Regions from separate parts of the Homo sapiens genome. Here region 1 is linked to region 2. Evidence: promoter capture Hi-C in 16 types of primary human blood cells and fetal thymus (Javierre and others, 2016). All regions are on one chromosome and are shown on one strand. The core of a region is centred on a gene start or on the middle of the fragment in contact, and the rest is flanking DNA. Distances in the headings are between cores, read along the strand shown. Region 1 overlaps RASAL2 (RAS protein activator like 2). Region 2 holds the start of TEX35 (testis expressed 35).

Region 1 (4,616 bases), core at 2,107-4,606, 190 kb before region 2:
CTGTGGTGGGCTCCACCCAGTTCGAGCTTCCCGGCTGCTTTGTTTGCCTAAGCAAGCCTGGGCAATGGTGGGCACCCTCCCCCAGCCTCGCTGCCGCCTTGCAGTTTGATCTCAGACTGCTGTGCTAGCAATCAGCGAGACTCCGTGGGCGTAGGACCCTCCGAGCCAGGTGTGGGATATAGTCTCGTGGTGCGCCGTTTTTTAAGCCGGTCTGAAAAGCGCAATATTTGGGTGGGAGTGACCTGATTTTCCAGGTGCGTCCGTCACCCCTTTCTTTGACTGGGAGAGGGAACTCCCTGACCCCTTGCGCTTCCCAGGTGAGGCAATGCCTCGCCCTGCTTTGGCTCGCACACGGTGCGCGCACCCACTGACCTGCGCCCACTGTCTGGCACTCCCTAGTGAGATGAACCCGGTACCTCAGATGGAAATGCAGAAATCACCCGTCTTCTGCCTCGCTCACGCTGGGAGCTGTAGACCGGAGCTGTTCCTATTCGGCCATCTTGGCTCCTCCCCTCACTTTATTATTATGACTATTTAATTCGTAAAATTTACTCAATTTAGAAACTAAGTTAAAACCAAAATGGCACACTTGAGTTATTCCCAGTTAAGCTCTCATTCACTGAGTCAGTTAACATCCTCTTCGGTAACAAGCACATTCTAAGTTTTCAGTATATCAGCTGGTTTTTAGCAGATTGTGAAAGTTTTGACACGTTAGTGGCTATCTCCATTCTTCACCAACCTTTTCTAAAAAGTACTTTATCTGTGCACAATAATTTTTTATTTATTTATTTTTTTGAGGCGGAGTCTCATCTCTGTCACCCAGGCTGGAGTGCAGTGGCTTGATCTTGGCTCACTGCAACCTCCACCTCCCGGGTTCCATCGATTCTCCTGTCCCAGCCTCCCAAGTAGCTGAGATTACAGGAATTTGCCACCATGCATGGCTAATTTTTGTATTTTTAGTAGAGACAGGGTTTCACCCCATGTTGGCCAGGCTAGTCTCGAACTCCTGACCTAAGGTGATCCACCCACCTCGGCCTCCCAAAGTGCTGCAATTACAGGCGTGAGCCACCGCGCCCCGCCTCAATAATTTTTTAATAATTTTTTCAATACCCTGAAATCTGGCTTTATTTGCCACTGAAATTACCCCCAACTATCAGAGATTTGATAATAAGTTTCATAACTTCATTATTTTTTTCTTTTTTGTTTTTCTATTTTTTTTAGCTGGTGTCTCGCTTTGTGGCTAGGCTAGAGTGCAGTGGCGCATGGCATGATCATAGCTCACTGCAGCCTTGACCTCCTAGGCTCAAGTGATCCTCCCCTGCCTCAGCCTCCCTAGTAGCTGGGACTACAGGCATGTGCCACCAGAACCAGATAATTTTTTTATTTAAAAAAATTTTTGTAGGTCGGGTGCAGTGGCTCACATCTGTAATCCCAGCACTTTGGGAGGCCAAGGCGGGTGGATCACCTGAGGTCAGGAGTTTGAGACCAGCCTGACCAACATGGTGAAACCCCGTCTCTACTAAAAATACAAAATTAGCTGGGTGAGGTGGTGCATGTCTGTAATCCCAACTACTCGGGAGGCTGAGGCAGGAGAATTGCTTGAACCCAGAAGGTGGAGGTTTTGGTGAGCCGAGATCGCGCCATTGCACTCCAGCCTGGGCAACAAGAGCGAAACTCCATCTCAAAAAAAAAAAAAAATTTTTTTTTGGTAGAGATGGGGTCTCACCGTGTTGCCCAGGCTGGTCTCAAACTCCTCACCTCAAGTGATACTCCCACCTCGGCCTCCCAAAGTGCTGGGAATACAGGTACAAGCCACTGCATCTGGCCAAGTTTCATAACTTTAGTCCTCATCACCTTCTAACTCTCTTCGTGGTTTTTAATGATCGACTTCCCTTTAAAGCTTCTCTTTCTTGACTTCTGTGACATTTTTTCCTCTATTGCTTATGTCCTGCCTCACCGTACTTTTTAAAATATTTCCCACTTTTTAAATGCAGATGTCTAAAGGTCTTATCCTTACCCTTTTTCTTTTGCTTTGTCCTTTCTCAGTAGTTGACTTCACCTATATTCATGTTTCCAAATGTCATCCCTGGGCCAGTACCTTTTAAATCTCTATTTTTGGCTTCCTCGTCTCTTCTCAGTTCCAGACCTGAATTCCCAACTGGTCGTCTGTACTAGAATGTTCAAAACTGAAGCCATTATCTTTGATTAGTTTCCCTTCTTTGTTCCTTCCCTCCCCAACAACCTGTTCTCATGTGGTGGTTGGTTCTGTTAATATGACCACCATCCTTCTAGTCATTCTAACTTTACATTACTCTTTTATTTCTACCTAAATATCTGAATAGCTACTCATATATCTTTTCCTGTTTCCATTTTTATCCTTCTGTATTAACTCATTTCACTGCTCTTTTGTCATCTTAGAGCACTAATTGAATCATACTACTTTCCTTGTTTAAACACTTTTACTGTATCTCCACTGATCTATAAGATGAGGTTCAAATTTACAGTGACACTAAACGTCCTATATATTCTGACTGAGAGTTAGCTCTTTAAGATCATCTTTTTTCTTTTTACCCACCACAGGTATGTATTCTGGGTTCTGGCCACATAGGACTGCTTCAGATTCCCTAGGCATTCTCAATACACATGGGCTTTTGTTCACATAGGGCATAAACCTGGAATATCTTGCTCTGTTTTTCCACCTTCATTTCTACCTTCTGTATGTAGAAATCCCATTTATCCTAAGGGACCAATAAGATATTAACTCTTGGCAATCTTTTTCTTCATTCACTAATCAGAATTCATTAGCATTTTTGTTTGTGATAAACAGTACTTTTTGTACTTCTGATATTTGGATGTATGTTCTTATGTTTTCAGTAAGTTGTTGGTATGTGTCATCTTTACTAGATTGGAACCTCTTAGATGGCAAGATTGTATCTTACTCACCTTGGTATCACCATAGCAGGTTGTTTTGTACATAACTGCAGGCTGAGTGAGTGACTGATTGTTGAGCAAATGACTGATATGAGACATACTAGAGAAACTCTTTCTTGACTTTCAGGTGGAGCATGTCAAAGTGAAAAATAATCTTAGATGTGGGTAATTTTTTTTTATCCTGAAGGGAAAACCATACCCACTTGAGAGAAAATCGTTTAGTAATGAAATTAGAGAATTACTAAATATCATTGCACAGCCACAGGACTATAAGCAGTATAATCACAACTATTGGTTTTGATAAATACAAAGTTGGTAAATGCCATTGTCCAAGTTAACAAGTCACAGTATCAAGTGTACTTGGTTGTGAATGTCAGGTCTGAACTCCGTGCTGTTGGTTAATATCATAACCATAGTTGTGTTAGTGAGCAAGATATTTGTGTTTATTTTTAAGATTTTATTAATAGTAAATCACTTTTATTAATTTCTTATATTTATAGAGAATGATAAGAGAAAATGAAGTATCTTAATGAAAGGAAATGACCATTTTATCCTTTTTGCTGCATTTCACAAAATGAATATTAGGTTATTTATAACAAAAACATGTATTAGGTTGTTAAGAGATTAATTAGTATATAAAAACCACACAAGAAGATTTAGCAGTTATTTCACAGATAGAGGGTTTACTTTTTCAGGAAAGAAAATGCATACCCGTAACTAGAACACATTCTGTCTGGAAGGATACCTTTACCAGTGACTGTGCTGGGTAGTGGAAAATGGCACCAGCTTTGAAGTTGTCTTAACCTGGATTCAAATTCCATATGCTCTCATCATTAACTCTGAACCTCAGCTTCCTTGTTGGATGAGATTTTTATTATGATTCAAAAGAAGAATGCAGGAGCAATAACATAAACTTTGATTTGAGCCAAACTTCAGTTCGCTCTGACTCATAAAATCATGGAACCAGTGAGATAATAGACTAGGTGTTATGTTTCTCATCTTGCTTGGACAGGTTTAAGCTATTAAAGAAATTTGAAGCTGGTCATAGTAGCTCACTTCTGTAATCCCAACTACTTGGGAGGCTAAGGTGGGAGGATTGCTTTGGTCCAGGATTTTGAGGCTGCAGATCACACCACTGCACTCCAGCCTGGGTGACAGAGCAAGACTCGATCTCTAGGAAAAAAAAAAAAAGAAAAGAAATTTGAGGTGTGACATCTTAAAGCATTCTATCTCTGTATCTTGTGACTTTGCCCATTTGTTTTTTTCCATTTTCACTTGCACTTCCTTTCTTCTAAAGTATAGTCATAATTCACCAGTCTGTTATGTAATGAAGGTAGAAAGATGGGAGTGGGCTTGTTTACAATGCATCTTGAAATATATTTGGAGACTTGACCTAGGCCCTTGACTGCCCAGAACCTTTTCTGAAAGGAAAAATAAGTAATTCAGATAAATTGAGCAAAATTAGCTAAATATCGTTTAATTGTACATGTGCATATGGCTCTCTTTTTAGGTAGCCCAAGATTGGCTATGCTGTTTACCAAAGCCTTTTAAGTTTACATTTCAAGCAGAAGGATTTATAAATCAGATTGGTGGAAAATCTAGTTTAATTTTATGTGCGAAACAGACTCTAACTGCCTCAAGGAATGAAGTTTTTGGCTTGTTATGACCCCCTTGGCACCCACCTG
Region 2 (4,342 bases), core at 29-2,528:
TTCCCTTAGAGGAAGGGCATTCCTACCACGAGGCCATCAGATCTGAGAGGGCTGAATTAAAAGGTCCAAGGAAACTGAAAAGTTCCAGCCCCTCATTTATAAGTGGGGAAAGTGAAGCCTGGGAAGCTGGTGACCACCCCCAACTCCCTCTCCTTCCGCTGATGCAGTGGCAGACACATTCTCCTCTGGCTATGGTGGAGTAAGACCCACAGCTGTCACCAGTGTCAGGGCTGGGAAATCACCACCTAGGAAATGCATCAGAAGTGCTGCAGGTGGCTCCAGAAGTTCCAGTGGCCTCCAGGAAGGATAGTCCCAAGCAGGTGTGTGAAATGGGAGGGTAAGTGTGGTCAGTAGTGGCCTGCATGGGGATGTCATTCACATGCAATTTGCATTAGTTCCTGTACTCCTGTGCTGTCTGTCCTCAGATGTCCATGTTGGCCTTTTCTGTGCAACTAGCAGTTGAAATGAGAGGGAAGAAGGAAGTGAATGACCAGTGATAAGAGGAAAAGAGAAATCAATTTCACCAACCCAGATCCCCAGTGATTTTTTATCCCATGGGGTGCCATGTTCCTCTGACTGTCTACTTTAGCACAAACTATGGCTACCCGCAGAATGGCCTTTTCTTTAGTATTCTTCATTTGCCCGAAAAGCTTCTTATCTTTAGCTTCTTGTCCCAACCCTCTTCCCGGATGATAGAAGAACTAGGAAAAGAGAATTTTTAGGTGGGCAGGGGTCTGGGGGTGGTTGTGGGACAGGGGCAGTGTGAGGTCAGAGGCATCAGAAACCATCCTGCTGAGACTGGCTACCCCACCTCATACAGAGTAACCCAGGTTAAGTGAGACGGTGCATGCACGTTGAACCAGAGAGACTTCATGGCATCCTCCAGCCCAAGGTGGCTTCCGGTCCGAGGTGGGGTCGGTTCGCGCGAGGAGCGCACAGCAGAGGACATGGGCTGTGCGCTCAGAGGAGGAGCTGGCTGTCCCTGGAGGACGTCCTTCTGAGTCAGTAGGTGAGTCCTGCTGCAGAAGGAGCCACTGCTTCTGACGCGTGCCTTGCACTTCGACCGTAGCAGGCCATGATCCTCCTCAGTGTGGACTTTCCTTCTGTTGCAAGAGGGAGGCCTGGTGGGACTCTGAAACCTGGCCTGAACCCCTCATCTCAGTGGCCGAAGCCCCCCAGGCCTGAAGCTGTGGTGACGCTCTGGACCACCATGTGGGTCCTGGCATTGTGACCTCAGCTGTTCCGTACACAAAGGGGTGGTCACCCTGCCCTCACCTTGACCTGTAAGTTGCCTAGGACAGTGGCCTGGTCCCAGGGGCTGTTGTGGGGAGTTGAAGAACACCCTGGCCTCCTCCATCATGTCGGCCAAGAGGGCAGAATTGAAGAAAACACATCTGGTAAAAGAGAGACATTGCTGGACAGTGTGGGTCCTCTCTGAGCTCCTACTGAATGGAGATGGTGTCGGGGCAAGGGATACAGAGAATGCTCGCATGAATCTCTGGTTTTTCTTTCTCTGTACTGAGCATAAAGCAGCCTCTCAGTCTGGAAGGGGTGTGGGATTAATCCCTAGCCTTGGGGGTGGGAAGGAAAGAGGCCTCTGCTGCCTCCCTCTGGGGATGAGGAGCACTGCCAAGGGAGCACTCCCTACTCCAAGACCACTCATGGTTCCACGGCCCATGCCAGGCCTGCCAGGCCCACATCTAACCAGCAGGGCTAAGGCTCAGAATAACCTTATTAGATAAATATAATCATCACGTCGATTTTATAGATGAGGAAATGGGGGCTCAGAGAGGCTAAGCAACTCACCCAAAATAACAGAGATAGTAGAGAGGTCAGCTGAGACTATAGTGCAAATCTGCCTATGGCCAAAGCCCTTGCTCTGGAAACAACACTTCCGGGGCTTGCTTCTAGTTATCTTAAAGTGCTTTCTCCACGCTGGCGCCTCCAGCAGGGAGAGGGCTGCCTGCCAAATAGGCAGACACACGCCCATAGGAAGAGGACAGCACGACAAGATGTGATTTGTTAGGAATCGGATCCGGGTGCTGCGGGGTCTGTGAGCCTGAGCTCAAGCCAGTTGGACAGGCAGGGTTGCATGGTTGTGGGGGGCAGGGGGCAGGGTTCCCGTGCAAGGGCCAGATGTTCTCCTCCCCAATCCTGATGTCTGCCAGCCTGAATCTCAGTCTCCTCTTTTTGCAGAGCAAGAACTACAAGGCAGTTTGCCTGGAATTGAAGCCAGAGCCGACCAAAGTAAGAAGCCCTTTTGAGGCCATGCAGGCAGCCAGGCCTGAGATCCATGGGGAAGTGACCAGGAGTCAGGGGTCATTTGCTGATCCTAGTGGCCAAGATTTGTCCCAGGTGCTGGGGGATGCACTGAGAGTTCTTGCTCTCATAGAACTTCACACTGTAACCAATCAGATACATAAACGAACAAGGACTCATTCAGCAGTGTTACCTGCTCTGCTGGGAATCAAGACAGGGAGACATGTCTGAGTGGCTGCCGTGGAGTGGGTGGTAGGGAAAGGCCTTCCTTTGAGCTGAGAGCTGAAGGACAAGACTCTGGCTTTGCAAAGGCAGAGTAAGAGCCTTCTAGGCAGAGGAGGCAGCATGCACTGAGGCCCAAGGTGGGAATGAGCCTGGCTGTTCAAGGGACAAAAGGAGCTGAGGCCCCGTGGGCCAGCAGGGGAGTGGAACAAGATGAGCTGAAAGAGGGAGGAGGATAGAGGAACCTTCTGCACAGGTGGGGCCACCAGCTTTCCTCTTGCCTTAGCCCTAAGGGAGGAACAGAAACACAGGGGGATCTCTTCTGCCTCTGCACTTCCACCGCCCATCTGCAATTCCCAAAGGTCTGTGTTCCTGTTTCAATCCACAGACATTTGATTACAAAGCAGTTAAACAAGAAGGGCGGTTTACCAAAGCAGGAGTGACACAGGACCTAAAGGTGAGTGCGTGAACTTGGAGGCATGTCTATATTCCAAACCACGTGAGTGTAAGTTTTCCCCAAATCCTCAGTGCCTGTTTCCTAAATACAAGAATATCCTCTTACATAGGCACAGTGCAATTATCAAAATCCAGAAGTTAACACACAGACAATACTCATCTATAGCCCTTGTTCTAATTTCACCAGTTGTCCCACACATGTGTTGCATAACAACAGAAAGGGGACGTTTTCTGGTCTAGGGTCTGATCCAGGATCACACATTGCCTCGAATTACCAGGTGTCTTTTCTATAATCTGGAACAGAACAGTTCTTTTTCTTTGGGTACACTGACATTTATTTATTTTTATTTTATTTTTTGAGACAAGGTCTCCCTCTGTCGCCCAGGCTGGAGTGCAGTGGCATGATCTAGGCTCACTGCAACCTCCAACTCCCAAGTTCAAGCAATTCTCCTGCCTCAGCCTCCCGAGTATCTGGGACTATAGGCGTGCACCACCATGCCCAGCTAATTTTTGTATTTTTAGTAGACACAGGGTTTCACCATATTGGTTTTGAACTCCTGACCTCAGCTGATCTGTCTGCCTTGGCCTCCTGAAGTGCTGGGATTACAGGTTTGAGCCACTGCACCTCGTCTGGGGACATTGACATTTTTACAGATTACAGATCACTTATGTTGTGGGATAACCCTCAATTTGGCTTTGTCTGTTGGATTCCTCATGATGAGATTCAGGCTGTGCATTTTTTGGCAGAGACACATGATGCCTGTAGGTCCCACTATCTTATAGTCTTTTTAAAACATTAATTAATTAATTAATTTTGAGATGGGGGTGGGGGTCTCGCTATGTTGCCCAGGCTGGTTTCAAACTCCTTGTTTCAAGTGATCCTCCCGCCTTGGCCTCCCAAAGTGCTGGGATTACAGGTGTGAGCCAGTGCACCTGGTCTATCCTATTGTCTCAACAACATCTTTTCTTTCCTCCCTATTGAAAGCTTTTCTCTGACAGTGTCCCAGGATCTTTCCTTTCCTCCTGTTGATGGTTTCCCCTCCATCCTAGATATTTCTTTCCTCCTTCTCTTCTCCATTTTATTTCCTCAGAATGAACTCAGGGAAGTGAGAGAAGAGCTCAAGGAGAAAATGGAGGAGATAAAACAGGTAAGAAGATGAGGCCTTCCATATCATGGAGGGAAAGTGTAGCTTCAGGAAAAATGCAATCCTTAAGTTTGAATAGTGAAGGAAAGCAGGAATTGCATGGAAAAATGTAACTCAGTCCTAATACCCAGAGCACTTCAGTATTAGGTTATTCACTTCTTACTTGTTTGATGCCTAAACCCAATTTTTGAGTGACTGAGGACTCCCTAAAGTGTCTCTTTGGTAAGGGTGGGTGATGTCACCTTAGTGATGAAGCTGAG

What was found. The method cuts DNA at HindIII sites, captures the fragments that hold promoters and counts their contacts. A CHiCAGO score of 5 or more calls a contact.
Region 1: a fragment that was not itself captured here is called in contact with the fragment with the promoter of TEX35 in region 2 in 3 of 17 cell types (endothelial precursors, naive B cells and total B cells); the score reaches 9.0 in endothelial precursors.

Annotation. Positions count from the first base shown.
Region 1 is chr1:178,320,306-178,324,921 of GRCh38, forward strand. All of the region lies in intron 3 of RASAL2 (RAS protein activator like 2), which reads left to right. It overlaps LOC105371629 (a long non-coding RNA gene), which reads right to left. Exons shown (of 3, transcript XR_922306.3): 3 at 3,783-4,104. Among named protein-coding and RNA genes, the nearest start is that of CLEC20A, 170 kb to the right of the region's middle. RefSeq lists an enhancer at 228-823. The HindIII fragment of the contact is 2,916 bases long and covers 1,899-4,616 here.
Region 2 is chr1:178,511,831-178,516,172 of GRCh38, forward strand. TEX35 (testis expressed 35) reads left to right here and starts at 1,279. Exons shown (of 9, transcript NM_032126.5): 1 at 1,279-1,397; 2 at 2,197-2,247; 3 at 2,870-2,938; 4 at 4,029-4,085. The coding sequence starts at 1,359. It overlaps LOC101928866 (a long non-coding RNA gene), which reads right to left and starts at 1,220. Exons shown (of 6, transcript XR_001738307.2): 1 at 812-1,220; 2 at 246-452. The HindIII fragment of the contact is 3,272 bases long and covers 649-3,920 here.